Regions from separate parts of the Homo sapiens genome. Here region 2 is linked to region 1. The links are contacts of gene promoters, found by promoter capture Hi-C in blood cells and fetal thymus (Javierre and others, 2016). All regions are on one chromosome and are shown on one strand. The core of a region is centred on a gene start or on the middle of the fragment in contact, and the rest is flanking DNA. Distances in the headings are between cores, read along the strand shown. Region 1 holds the start of BNC1 (basonuclin zinc finger protein 1). Region 2 overlaps SH3GL3 (SH3 domain containing GRB2 like 3, endophilin A3).

Region 1 (6,027 bases), core at 1,596-4,095:
TTAATAAAGTTTCTTTTAGTACTTGATAATGTAAAGTTAGGGAAGACAATCTGTTTTTATCACTTGCCAAGACAAAGAACTTGCCACAAAAGAAAATGGCAAGGTTGAAACATAGAAGCAAAACGTGAGGACTTTGCAAGAGCAGGATGGGCTCTCAGAGATGCTCTCATTTGCCAGATGAAAAAGGTGAGGTCTAGAGGAGGGAAAGGCCATACCAGACCCCACTGGTAACCAGCAGGAAAACAGGAAGATGGTCTGGGTAGTCTTTACCCAGCCAGTACCACACTCCTGTCTACAGGCACAGGTGGTTTCTCTGTTCCTGTTTCTACTTAACATTTCCAGGGAATGGCAGAGAAGCCCATCAGACCTGAGAAATAAATTTGAGGACTGATGTCAGAGGTCACATGGTACTATCAGGTACATGATTTAAAATGAAACTGCAAAAGATTAATTAGTAATTTTTATCTCGACCTACTGATTCCCTATATGTCGGTCCAAATTGTCACATTTGAAAAAAATGTATCTGTCGATCCCAACAGTACATGTTGGAAGAGGCAGCTTGTTTTCATGTTTTCAAATTATGTACTGCCAGAATCCTTCTTGTGTTTGTAGCCAGGAATAGAGTTACACAGTTGATTCTGATATTTGTTGCTAGCAGAAAGTTTTACTAAAACACATATAATTTAGTTGCAATTAATATAAAGATAATGACCAAAACTTTCAATTGGACAGATTAAAGTTATTGAAGTGGGCCACCGCCTGGGACATAGACATTGTGGTGTATTTATAATAGGCATAGGTGGCATTCAGTAATATTGTCATCAAGGATCTCTCTTGGTTACAATATTATTGTAGGTAACAAATTTAAGTTAATCCAGAAATTGGTTTTAGATGCAGCAGAAAGGAAAGGGGGAGAGGGTTTGCAGAACAGAGACTATTTTATTTAGTCCTACCAATCTGGCCTGAGACAGGCTTTCATATCTGCTTTTATAGAGAAGAAAAGAGGGGCCAAGAAGGCTGACTTCCTCAGCCAGTTTCCAGTTGCTAGGAATGAGCTATCCCTGGGTCACTATGACTGCAAAACCAGAGGTTTATCTGCTACCGTATCTCATAGCACAGAAGCCACTAAGATGAGTAACCACCAAAGGAATTAAGACAAGCACACATCACAACTAGGCTACACAATGCTACTGGCACGATGAAAGAGGCAGAAAAAAGTGCCTGGGGGTCACAACAGGGCAAAAGCACATCGAGTGGAGGCTTGGTGGATCAGGGAAGGTTTCTGAGATGTGGTGACATTCCAGAAAGTCCTTCAAAGATGCACTGTGTTACAACAAACAGAGAAGGAGGTGTTAGAAGAAAGGCCTCAATACGGGGGCACGGAGGAATGAGAGGTAAGCAGTTTAGATGCGGAATGAATCTAGCAAAGCTACATCAAGAAGTTAGCCACGTGAAAAAAAAAAAAAAGAATCTCCTCCCACGGCAAGGTCCATCACGTGAGGCCAGGAGACTTCAAGCCTACAAGGAAAGGCGCCACACATCAGGCCCAGGACACTCACCTGTGTGTCCACCCCAGGAGAGGCAGAAGGACCCGCTGGACCCCAGGACGCCAGGACGCCCAGACACCCACACATTCTTCCTCGTACACCTTGTTCCCTCCTTTCCCTTCTCTTCCCTTCAGAAGCCTTCCACCTGCCTGTGCCTTCCATAGCCACAACCAGGCACACTCTGGGTGGCTGAGGGCAACTCACTTCATCTTCCTTTTCCTCTCAGAGAGGGAAGGAAGAGCTTTGTTTCCTTTTCAAGGATCCCCACCAGCAGCAAGGCAGGTGGAAGAAACTGAGGGAAGAGGAAGCAGGACCCCCGCCGCCCCCCCAGTCTAGCCTTTACAGACTCCTTTTAAGGAGCTGAAGAGGTTGGGAGAGGCTTGCCCTGCCCCGGGGCAGCAGAAACCCGGGCGCTGCTGCAGCAGCTGTGGGCGATCTCCGTCAGCTCCTGGGCTCCAGGATCCTGCGGCCTCAGCCCCTCCGCGTCTACTCTCGGGGCCACCACCTCCAGTTGGCTTCTCCAGGGCACTTCATTTCATTCCGTCCCTAGCATCCAATAAGACGCGAAAAACTTAATCCCATTTTACAACTGAAGCCACTGAGGCCCAGAGAGCAAAGCCATTTGTCCTGGGAAAGTGGTCAAGCTGGGACTTTGACTCTTCAGACCACCCAAGGGAAGGGGTGTGTGTGTGTGTGTGTGTGTGTGTGCGTGTGCGGTGGGGGGCGCTTGTTTTGAGTTCTTAAGAAAACCTCCTGGCGACCCCCTTCTTCCACATCCCAAGACGCTCGTCCCGCACTTTCTCGGGAATGAGGTTTCTGCAGGCGAGGGCGGCGCTGCCTTCTTCCTCCGCGGCAGTGAGACCCCGAGGGCGCCCCAGGGTAGGAGGGGAGGCCGAATCATCTCCTGAGAAGAGCGCCAGAGAACTTCAGAGCGTTTCGCCCTTCCCCGGGAGAGGCAAACACCGACACGTCTGTGTCTTTTACCAACAAGTGCCTTCAAGCCCGGCGGGGGCAGACACCTCCGCGCCGGCCGCCGGCGAGGTCTCCGCGGTCTGCGGGGGCCACGGCCTCGCCTCAGCTGCGCTGATTTAGGGCGTTATCCGGTCCCGGGGCGGGAGGCGGCCTCCCGGGCGGCGAAGCAGCGCCCGCGGCGTGGGGCGACCGCGCGGTGGGCGGAGGGGCAGGGGGAGGGGCGGAGAGGCGTCCCCGGGGCGCAGGGGGCGGGCGTGCGGGCACACGCGGTGCGCGGCGGGGGCGGCCATCGTGCTGCGCAGCCTGGGCGCTTGGGGAGCCGCCCACTTCGCCGGGTCGCGCCCCGACGGCCGGAGCGTGGATGCGGCGGCGCCCGCCGAGCCGGGGCGGACGCGGGGCGGCCCGGGCCCGGGAGACGCGCCGGCAGCCCCGGCACCGCAGCGGTCGCAGGATGGCCGAGGTAAGCGCGGCGCCCTCCGCGGGCGCGGGGATTCTCTGTGCGCGGAGCAGGCGGCCCGGGACGCCGCTGGGCTCCGGCTCCCGTGGGTACCCGAGGGCCACCTCCCGAGGGCCAGCTGGCTACCTGCGCGGCAGCGCGGCCCCGAGGCGCGGCGGGAGGGACCGTGGTCTCCGGCCGGGAGGCGGCGGCGGGGGGGTTGGGGCTCTGGGACCCGTCCCTGCCCGACGTCCCGGAGCTGGCAAACGGTCTCCGCGCCGGATCTGCGGGCGCGTCGGAGGTGCCGGCGGGCCAGCCTGTGGAAATCGGCGGCGGCACTCGGCGGGTACCCTACACGCCACTCTCTGCCGCCCGCACCCCAGGCTTCAGCCCAGGACGTTAGGACTTGCTGTTTCCACCTGTGGGGGTCGACCCCTTCTTTTTTTTTTTTTCTTTTACCTCAGAATTTGTGAAACAGCTGATATTTCACACTGGCCGTCTTTCTCTCCGGGGATTGTTTCTCTGGAGAACGGGGCGCGCGGCAGCCTCCGGTCACTGAGGAGAACTGCGGAGACGGGCGGGCGGCCGTGAGGAGGCTCCCGTCCACTGCGGGACAAATCTTTTGTAGAGCAACAACAACAACAAAAAACAAAACAAACCCACAAGAACAAAAAACCCACGACTGAAAGTCGCTATTTAGACAGGTCCGGTCCGAAAGCTTCCGGGACACAGACCGAGCGTTGACCGTGTGCGGGGCAGATTTGACCAGCTTCACTGCGGACCCTGGAGTCCTTGTCGCGGCTCCGCGCGAGGTGGCCCGTCTTTCAGAAAGCGCTGGGACGGGGCTAAGGCGCTTGGGCTCTGGGCTGGAAGCCGGGCCGAGCCGCGTCCGCCGCTCCGAGGTTTTCCTGGAGTGACAGGAAGTGGGCCTGGGCTGCGGAGCCCGCGGCTGCGCCTGCCGCTTCCTTCAGGGGTTTGCATGGGAAGCGCCGGGACGGGAAGCCCCCGGCCCCCGACTTCGAGCTCCCTTAACAGTCCCGCCCAGCCTGGCCTTGGGACCTGCGAGCGCGTGGCTCGCCCGTCTCGGGAGCGCCCCGTCGGTTCCGTGCTGGGAGCCGGGCGGCGGCGGCGAGGCTGGGGGCCGCGGGCGGAGAAGGAGGAGGCCGCTGCGGGGTCTCCCGCTGCTCCTCCGGAGCCGCCGCCCAGACCCGGAGCCCCGCCGCCGCCTGGCTTTGCCGGAGTTCCTCGGGATTTGTCAGCCAGATGTGACAAGATTGTGGCGAGGCGAGTGAAGGAGATCTGATATTAATCAGCGCGTAGCTCCGAGCCAAACTTTCACAAATGCGGTGTAGAAACATGTTCTTCTCATTTAAGGCATCTCTTTGTGGCTGCGGGGCTGCCACCGCTCCGAGTCTGACAGTTAAGTGGAATGCCATCTCCCAGCCTTAATTGTGTGAGTGAAGTTGTGTGTGGTTGGGGGGCGGGGGGCATCAGACGCTCGGGGGTTCGGTAACGTCCCCTGGTTTTATGGCTGTGCTCGCCTCAGTCCTCTGAAGGCCAGGGCATTTAAAGCGGCCCAGACGCCTGGTCTCAGCCAGGCCTCTTGCTGTTAACACTTAAGGGGCCTAAAAGAGGCCCCACCGGTGTCCTGGGAATCCCTGTCAGGGAGAGAGAGAGTGTGTGTGTGAGGGAGAGAGAACATGTGTTACTGCATAGGACCACAGAGCAGATGTAGCAACAATTTTTTTAAAAATATATTCTTTTCATCAAAGCGACAAGATTTTGGCTTGACAGTAAGTGAATTGAAAAACAGCATTTGGCAGATTTTTTTTCATTCGCTGTTTATTTAATTTGCTATTCGATTTTATGGGATCTCTTGATAAGATTCTAAGTCTTCGACCCTGAGTTTGCAAATACGTGTTAATGTATTGAAACTTTTGTTCAGTGATGGATACACTGACTCTCTTTTCATTGATCCCTTCCCAGATTCGTTGATACATATTAAAACCTTGTTAAAATAGTTTGTCAAAATAAAATTTTGTACATCATATAAAAGAACATTACTTCAGATGTTACAAATTGTACTGGATTTGATTTGCTCTTTAAAGAGGTGTGAAAAGATGGCTTCTCCTTTTGTGATGATGAATTTTAAGAAATAACTTTATTCTTTTTGGCATACTTTCAGATGGTTAAAACGAATAAGATACGAGTCATCGTTTGATTTCTCATCTAATAAGTTTGCTAACTAATTTCACCAAGAAACTATTACTATTTCAAGTCAACTGTTGGTTGAACGTGTTCCTGTTGTAGTTAAATGCTGAGAAGAGGTGGTGAAATCTTCACCTAGCACACATGATGCTCACACTTTGGGAACTCGTAATTATGTTCAGGCATCTGCATAATTTAATTTGAATATCATCTGTACCTATAGTGTCCCTTCAGACTAGTAAGGATTTAGGGACATTCTCCTCCTTCAGAAAGTGGTTAAAGTTCTTTGGCCATTGATACCTACAGTGATCTGTTTGCTGTGGTTATAATTCTCATTAGAAATATTGACTAACATGAAGTAATTGCCTTGGAAGCATGAGATTTACTGGAGGGCTATTTTATGTTTTATTGCATCTCCCCCATGTAGCAGTTAGGCCTGCATCCCAGGCCCATGCCCACTTTCTGTACCTCAAGATCATCAGATTGGAAAGACGATCCAACCCGATAGATGAGAGAGAAAAGCCATACAGGTTTCCCTGTGGAACAAAGTAGTTGTCCCTAAGCACACATTTGTCATTTATGAATGCCTAGGGATAAGTATAAACAGGGAAACATTTTAAAAGTTCAATTTGTCAGTAAAATTAAACTGCAGCTTATGGAGTGGGGGGCAGAAGTGTCTTTTAGCTTCTGTATGTGGCTTTAGAAGTAATTTTGATGTGGCCATTAAAAGGGATGCCCTGAAGGTTCCACAGGGTAAATTACTTACAGGAGTGTGCTTCACCCCAGGGTGAATTTTCTCCTCTACAGATGTCATTTAGAGTGGGTTACTTTTGTCAGAAACTGTCCTTTTTAGAAGGAACTGAA
Region 2 (6,027 bases), core at 2,400-4,899, 270 kb before region 1:
ATCTGCTGAGGCATGGGAACAGGAGTCCAATAAACGGTATTGCTTTAAACCACTGAATTTTGGAGTGGTTTGCCACATAATAGAAGTTATCTGGTACACTGAACAAGAATCCTTACTTTTCAGGCTGAGTACAGAAGTCAGAGAGAATTAACCTAATGTCTTGATACAAGGCATAACTTCCAATAGAAAAAATGAAAAATTTCATTTCCACACACCAAGCAGTGTTTTAACAGATGTGTCCATCAGTTAACTCTCCTAAACATTTTCATTGTTGTTGTTCAGTAGTGAAATCATCCAACATATTGGTTCTCAACTTTGGAGGTAATAGCCTGAGGATCTAAGGAAAGTTACACAATCTCTCCTGGGGTGGGGAGTGGCACCTCCACGTTTTGTTGCCATGGTAGAGTACAAAAGTGGCCACAGGCTTTGCAGCTCCTCTCATTAAGAAGTCTATTTTTCCACGCTTCGACTTGCTTTGGCCAATAGAAGAGTGTAAACCACACTGTATAGCTATAAATTCCAAATCAGTACTCACAAAGAGGCTCTACAGATACTTCTGCTCACTCTGTCAGGTCCGCTGTGACTGCTTCCACCTGACCAAGTCTGGGCTGCCTTGTTGGAGAATGAAAGACCACGTGGATCAGAGATCAGCCATCCCACCTGAGCAACCTCGGGCCATCAAGCCCTCAGCTCACCTGGCAGCTGACCGGCAACAGGTGAGTGAGCCCAGCAGCGATCAACCACACCAGCACATCCACCCACCCAGTGCTCCCAGCCCAAATTGCTGACCCACAGAATCATAAACTAAATGAACTTTTTTTTTTGTCTTAAGTCGCTGTGTTTTCGGATGGTGTGTTATATAGCAAAAGCTGACTGATACAGTGGCCTGCATTTCCTGTGACTATTGAAACCACAGAAGCCCACATGTAGATCCACGTTTTAAAATAACCATTTGAAAATCCCTTTGGCTTGGAGAGTTGGACCCGAAATCCCTTTAATCCGAACGAGTTCGCACTTGTTCAGGTTTTACTTGTTCTATTTTCAGAAACCAAAATGTCTAATAGAAGGAGTAGTGTTTCTACTTTCAAGAACAGAAACTAGTGACATGAATATATCTTGTTTGAAAAGACAACATATGGGATCATTTTCAACAGGAGTCACAGGTTAAGAGTCATGATCATTCGTTTCTGCTTTTCCTGAATTTCCCAGTGGTGTTTACTGTTTTGATACATTAAGTATAAATACACATATAGCATTAGCTGTTTAGGCCACGTAATTATATTTCAGAGGTCAGTCAATGAACAAATATTGTTTGTTGAGCATCTACTATGTGCAGGGACATGACTGGTACTTGGGATAGAAAGATAAAAAAAGATAGACGTGATTCCTACAGGGCACCTGGCCTCCTTCCAAGGTTACAAGGTTATTTCCTCTAGGTGCTGGAAGCTAAATATAAATACTCAAGCTTCTATTTCTGGTGAAGATGACTATTCAAATTCAACTCCGATGCACTCCCTATGCTCTGAATACAAATCAAGGATAGATTAAATATCAAAATATGCACTCTTTATGCCTTGAATACATAGCAAGGATAAATTAAATATCAAAAAAAGAAAACCAGAAAGATAAGCAATGCTCAAAAACAGAATAAACATTTTTGTGAATCTGAAAATGAACAGAAACACAACATGATGAACAAGGTTGAAGCCTCGGGCCTGCTGGGCTTCTTGCCTGCACACAGGCTATGACAGCCAGCAGTCTGGTTCCTGCTGAGTACAAAAGGATCTAAAAGTGCTCCATGAGACCAGAGTCTGGGTTCAAGTTCTGCTTACAGCTGGGGATGGAAAAGCAAATGAGGCTGGGAAAAAAAATTCAGATGTAAACCCCTGTCTGATGCTACCACATGTGGCAATCTGCAGGCCCAAGGAGACTGAAGAACAAAGAATCAGTCAAGTCACATCCCCACCCCCTCCAGCTCTGTGACTGGATCCAGATAGCCCCAATATCACCACAGAACAGAAACCACGGTTTTGTACTGGGGCCTTGGGAAGCTGGGTGGAAGAAGCCACAATCACTAGAGAGAAGTGAGCACAAGAAGTTGGAATTAAAATTCATCCTAGATCTAAATTCCAAGGCACATGAATAAAATATAACACCAAGAAAGAGAGCCGACAAAATCACATAACATAACATGAATTCACTTCTAGAGAAAACGGTTTTATGAAACAATATAGACTTTTTAATGTGTGTTTAGGATATTATTAAAATGATAGATAAAGGAATAACTTCTATTAATGAAGAGCAAACAATTATACAAAAGGGAAGAAATTTTCAAGATAGACATAAAACATTAGAAACAAAAAGTATTATATAGTCATAAAAATGAAAAACCCAATAGATGGGACAAACTCCAGCCTGGGCGCAATCAGGAAAGAACTGGTAAGCTGGAAAATATTAAGGAACTTAAAGAACATAAAATAAACAGAGATGAAGAGTTTTTTTAAGGAAATATCAGTTAATAGATATGAAGGATAAGTGAGAGATTCCAAGATATATCCAACAGGCACTCCAGAAAAAAACAACAGAATATAGGAGAATCAATATTTACAAGTAAAATGGCTCTTTTATCTTCTGTAATTGAAGGAAAATAGGAGTCTACAGTTTGGAAGCACACTCAAGTACCATGCAAGATGAATATTAATTCACACCCAGACGCAGCAAAACCTCAAAAATAAACAATCCTAAAACTATCGCAGGGGAAAAAACATCCAAAGCAACAATAAGATTGACAGCAGATTTCTCTTCTGCAACAGCAGATGCCAGGGACAATGAAGGAATGGCATCAAAGTGTTAAGAAGAAATCGGCTAGGCACGGGATTACAGATCATGCCTGTAATCCCAGCACTTTGGGAGGTTGAGGCGGGTGGATCACCTGAGGTCAGGTGTTCAAAACCAGCCTGGCCAACATGGTGAAACCCTGTCTCTACTAAAAATACAAAAATTAGCCGGGTGTGGTGGCGCAATAAAAATCTAGAATTTTCTGTCTCCCTAAACTGTTGTTTAAGAGCAAGGCTGGGTGCAGTGGCTCATGCCTGTAATCCCAACAGTTTGGGAGGCCGAAGTGGTGGATCACATGAGGTCAGGAGTTTGAGACCAGCCTGTCCAACATGGAGAAACCCCGTCTCTACTAAAAACACAAAATTAGCTGGGTGTGGTGGCGCATGCCTGTAATCCCAGCTACTCAGGAGGCTGAGGCAGGAGAATCGCTTGAACCCGGGAGGTAGACATTGCGGTGAGCCGGGATCGCGCCATTGCACTCCAGTCTGGGCAATAAGAGTGAAATTCCGTCTCAAAAAAAAAATCAGCTGGATGTGGTGGCACGTGCCTATAATCTCAGCCACTCAGAAGACTGAGGTGGGAGAATGGAAGAATCACTTGAACTCGGGAGGCAGAGGTTGCAATGAGCTGAGATCACACCACCGCACTCCAGCCTGAGTGACAAAGTGAGACTCTGTCTCAAAAAAAAAAAAAAAAAAGAGCGAGAGAAAGAAAATAAAGACATATTCAGACTTCACAGACTCAAATAACAGTGATGCTAAAGTATTACATCAAGGAAATAAAAACCGAACCAAGAGGGAAAGTATGGACCATAGGAAACAACGGTGAGAATAAAAATTGAGAAACTATGGTGGTAAATTTACCATTGAGTAAAGGCAAACAAACAAGCAAAAACCAATGTGTCTGAGTTTACACAAGGGCAAAATTAAAACCTTCAGCAATAATAACACAGAAATGGGGAAGGGTGTTGAGTGGATATTTCAAGCACACTAAGATTCATGTGTGTTCAGGAGGAGGTGAGAAATGGGTATAACTTTAGACATCATTACAATAATGCACAGCAGGTATCTGTGTTATATAACTAATGGTAACTCCTAAAAACACAAAACTATGATACCCATATAGAACTATGCATGTTATAACATAGTATCCATACCAGCACACTGTTAGAAAACCAGTATTTTTCAATCCAAAAGAAAACAAGGGAGAATAAAGGGAGAGGGAGGAAGAAGGAATGGCAAACAGAAACCACAAAATCAGATAGTAATAAGTCTAAATAGATCAGTAATGATCATCTATATAATTGGATTAAATTCAACATACTAAATAATAATAGAGTGAATTTTAACAATCTAGCTATATACATCTTCTAAGAGTCACAACTAAAACACAACACATAGAAAGACTGAAAAGACAAAATGTACATACTAGGAAAATGCTAATCAAAATAAAGCCTGCAGCAGTAATATCAGACAAGAGCTACCTGTCTTTGTTTTTTGTTTTTTTGAGACAGGGTCTCGCTTTGTTGCCCAGGCTGGAGTACAGTGGTGTGATCTCAGGAGTAGCTGAGACCACAGGTGCACAGCATCATGCCTGGCTCATTTTTGTATTTTTGTAGAGATGGGGTTTCTCTATGTTGCCCAGGCTGGTCTTGAGCTCCAAGGTTCAAGCGATCCTCCTGCCTCCACCTCCTAAAGTGCTGGGATTTCAGATATGAGCCACTGTGCCTGACCTAAGAAATACCTTCCTAAGGCAAAGCATTAATAGGAATAGAGACTCAATGTAATAATAAAAGGAGCAATCCACCAAAATTTTTATAATAATGATATTGTTTCCACTATTAGTATAACCTCCAAAAAATATAAAGCAAAACTGAAATAGTGAAACTGATAAACCCACAATTACAGCAGGAGATTTAACACAACTCCATCAGAAAACTGACATATCAAACATGATAAAAAATTGAAAAAGATATTGATTATCTGAATGACCAAAATAATAACCTTGGTCAACTATTATGCACATATACCTATATCCCCCAGCCAATAAATTTAAAAAATGTATATTCCTTGCAAGTACAGATAGAACATTACAAAAACTGACCATATATTATGTTGCTGCAAAATATTATAAGTAGTGGCAAAAACCACAATTACTTTTGCACCAACCTAATACTACGTAACAAAGTCAATCAATACCATATAGAGCATGTTTATTAGGTTTTGGGGTTTTTTAACCATAATGCAATTAAGTTAGGAACCAACAATAAAAATAAGTATATCAGCACAAAATTTTAAAATTCTGTCCTAAATAACAGATTAAAAAGAAAACCCCAATAGAAATTACCAAAAAATTTAACAACAATAAAAATATTATACATCAAAATCTGTGGTATGCAGCTAAAGCTGTATTCAAAAATCATTGTATAACCTTAAATACATTTCAAAGAACACCTCAATTTAATGTTTCAAACTGACACCACGTCATTCAATCTAATTTCTGAAACATCTAATATCTCAGGTTGGAAAGTCTACCAACTGTGCCAATTTGCTAGAGATGCAAAGATCAGTCACTCTCACAGGCCCACTGGAAAGCAGAAACACAAACAGCAATCCACAATGAGATCAATACTATTCTGTAATAGAGATGCAGAACTTGCCATTAAAACCCAGATGGAAGGAAGCAATTATATAAATGAGAAGGTGCCAAGAAAGTTCCAGAACAAAGCCTAGTAGGATATATGGAGTTCACCAGGGAGATAAGAAGAAAAGTGGCATTTCTGTCAGAAAGAATAGTATAAGCAAAGAAATGGCTGATTAAAAAATAGAGAGTCCAAATAGATCAGTAATGATTATCTACACAATTGGATTACATTCAACATACTAAATAATACTAGAGTGGATTTTAAAAAATCCAGCTATATGCAGCTTCTAAGAGATGCACACAACATAACAGGAAACAGCATAATAATTCAGCAAGGGTAACAGAAGCTTAAATGAAAAGGAGCAGACAGGCATACACTCAGGGGCCAGACCATGGGGCTAAACTTAATTCTGGGGACAATGGAGACTTTTAGAAAGGTGAGTGATAAGAACAGATCTGAGTTTCAGAAAGATTAGTCAAGTGGGCCATGAGATAATGGACTGGAGAGGAACCAGAAGGTGGACAGGCAGATCGGTTAGGCGATGA

What was found. The method cuts DNA at HindIII sites, captures the fragments that hold promoters and counts their contacts. A CHiCAGO score of 5 or more calls a contact.
Region 2: a fragment that was not itself captured here is called in contact with the fragment with the promoter of BNC1 in region 1 in 1 of 17 cell types (M2 macrophages); the score reaches 5.7 in M2 macrophages.

Annotation. Positions count from the first base shown.
Region 1 is chr15:83,281,482-83,287,508 of GRCh38, reverse strand. BNC1 (basonuclin zinc finger protein 1) reads left to right here and starts at 2,845. Exons shown (of 5, transcript NM_001717.4): 1 at 2,845-2,979. The coding sequence starts at 2,881. It overlaps BNC1-AS1 (BNC1 antisense RNA 1), which reads right to left and starts at 3,497. Exons shown (of 3, transcript XR_932542.3): 1 at 3,415-3,497. RefSeq lists enhancers at 1,684-2,184, 2,954-3,454. The HindIII fragment of the contact is 5,658 bases long and covers 1-3,675 here.
Region 2 is chr15:83,551,529-83,557,555 of GRCh38, reverse strand. The region is part of intron 1 of SH3GL3 (SH3 domain containing GRB2 like 3, endophilin A3); the gene reads right to left. Among named protein-coding and RNA genes, the nearest start is that of ADAMTSL3, 100 kb to the left of the region's middle. The HindIII fragment of the contact is 4,363 bases long and covers 1,468-5,830 here.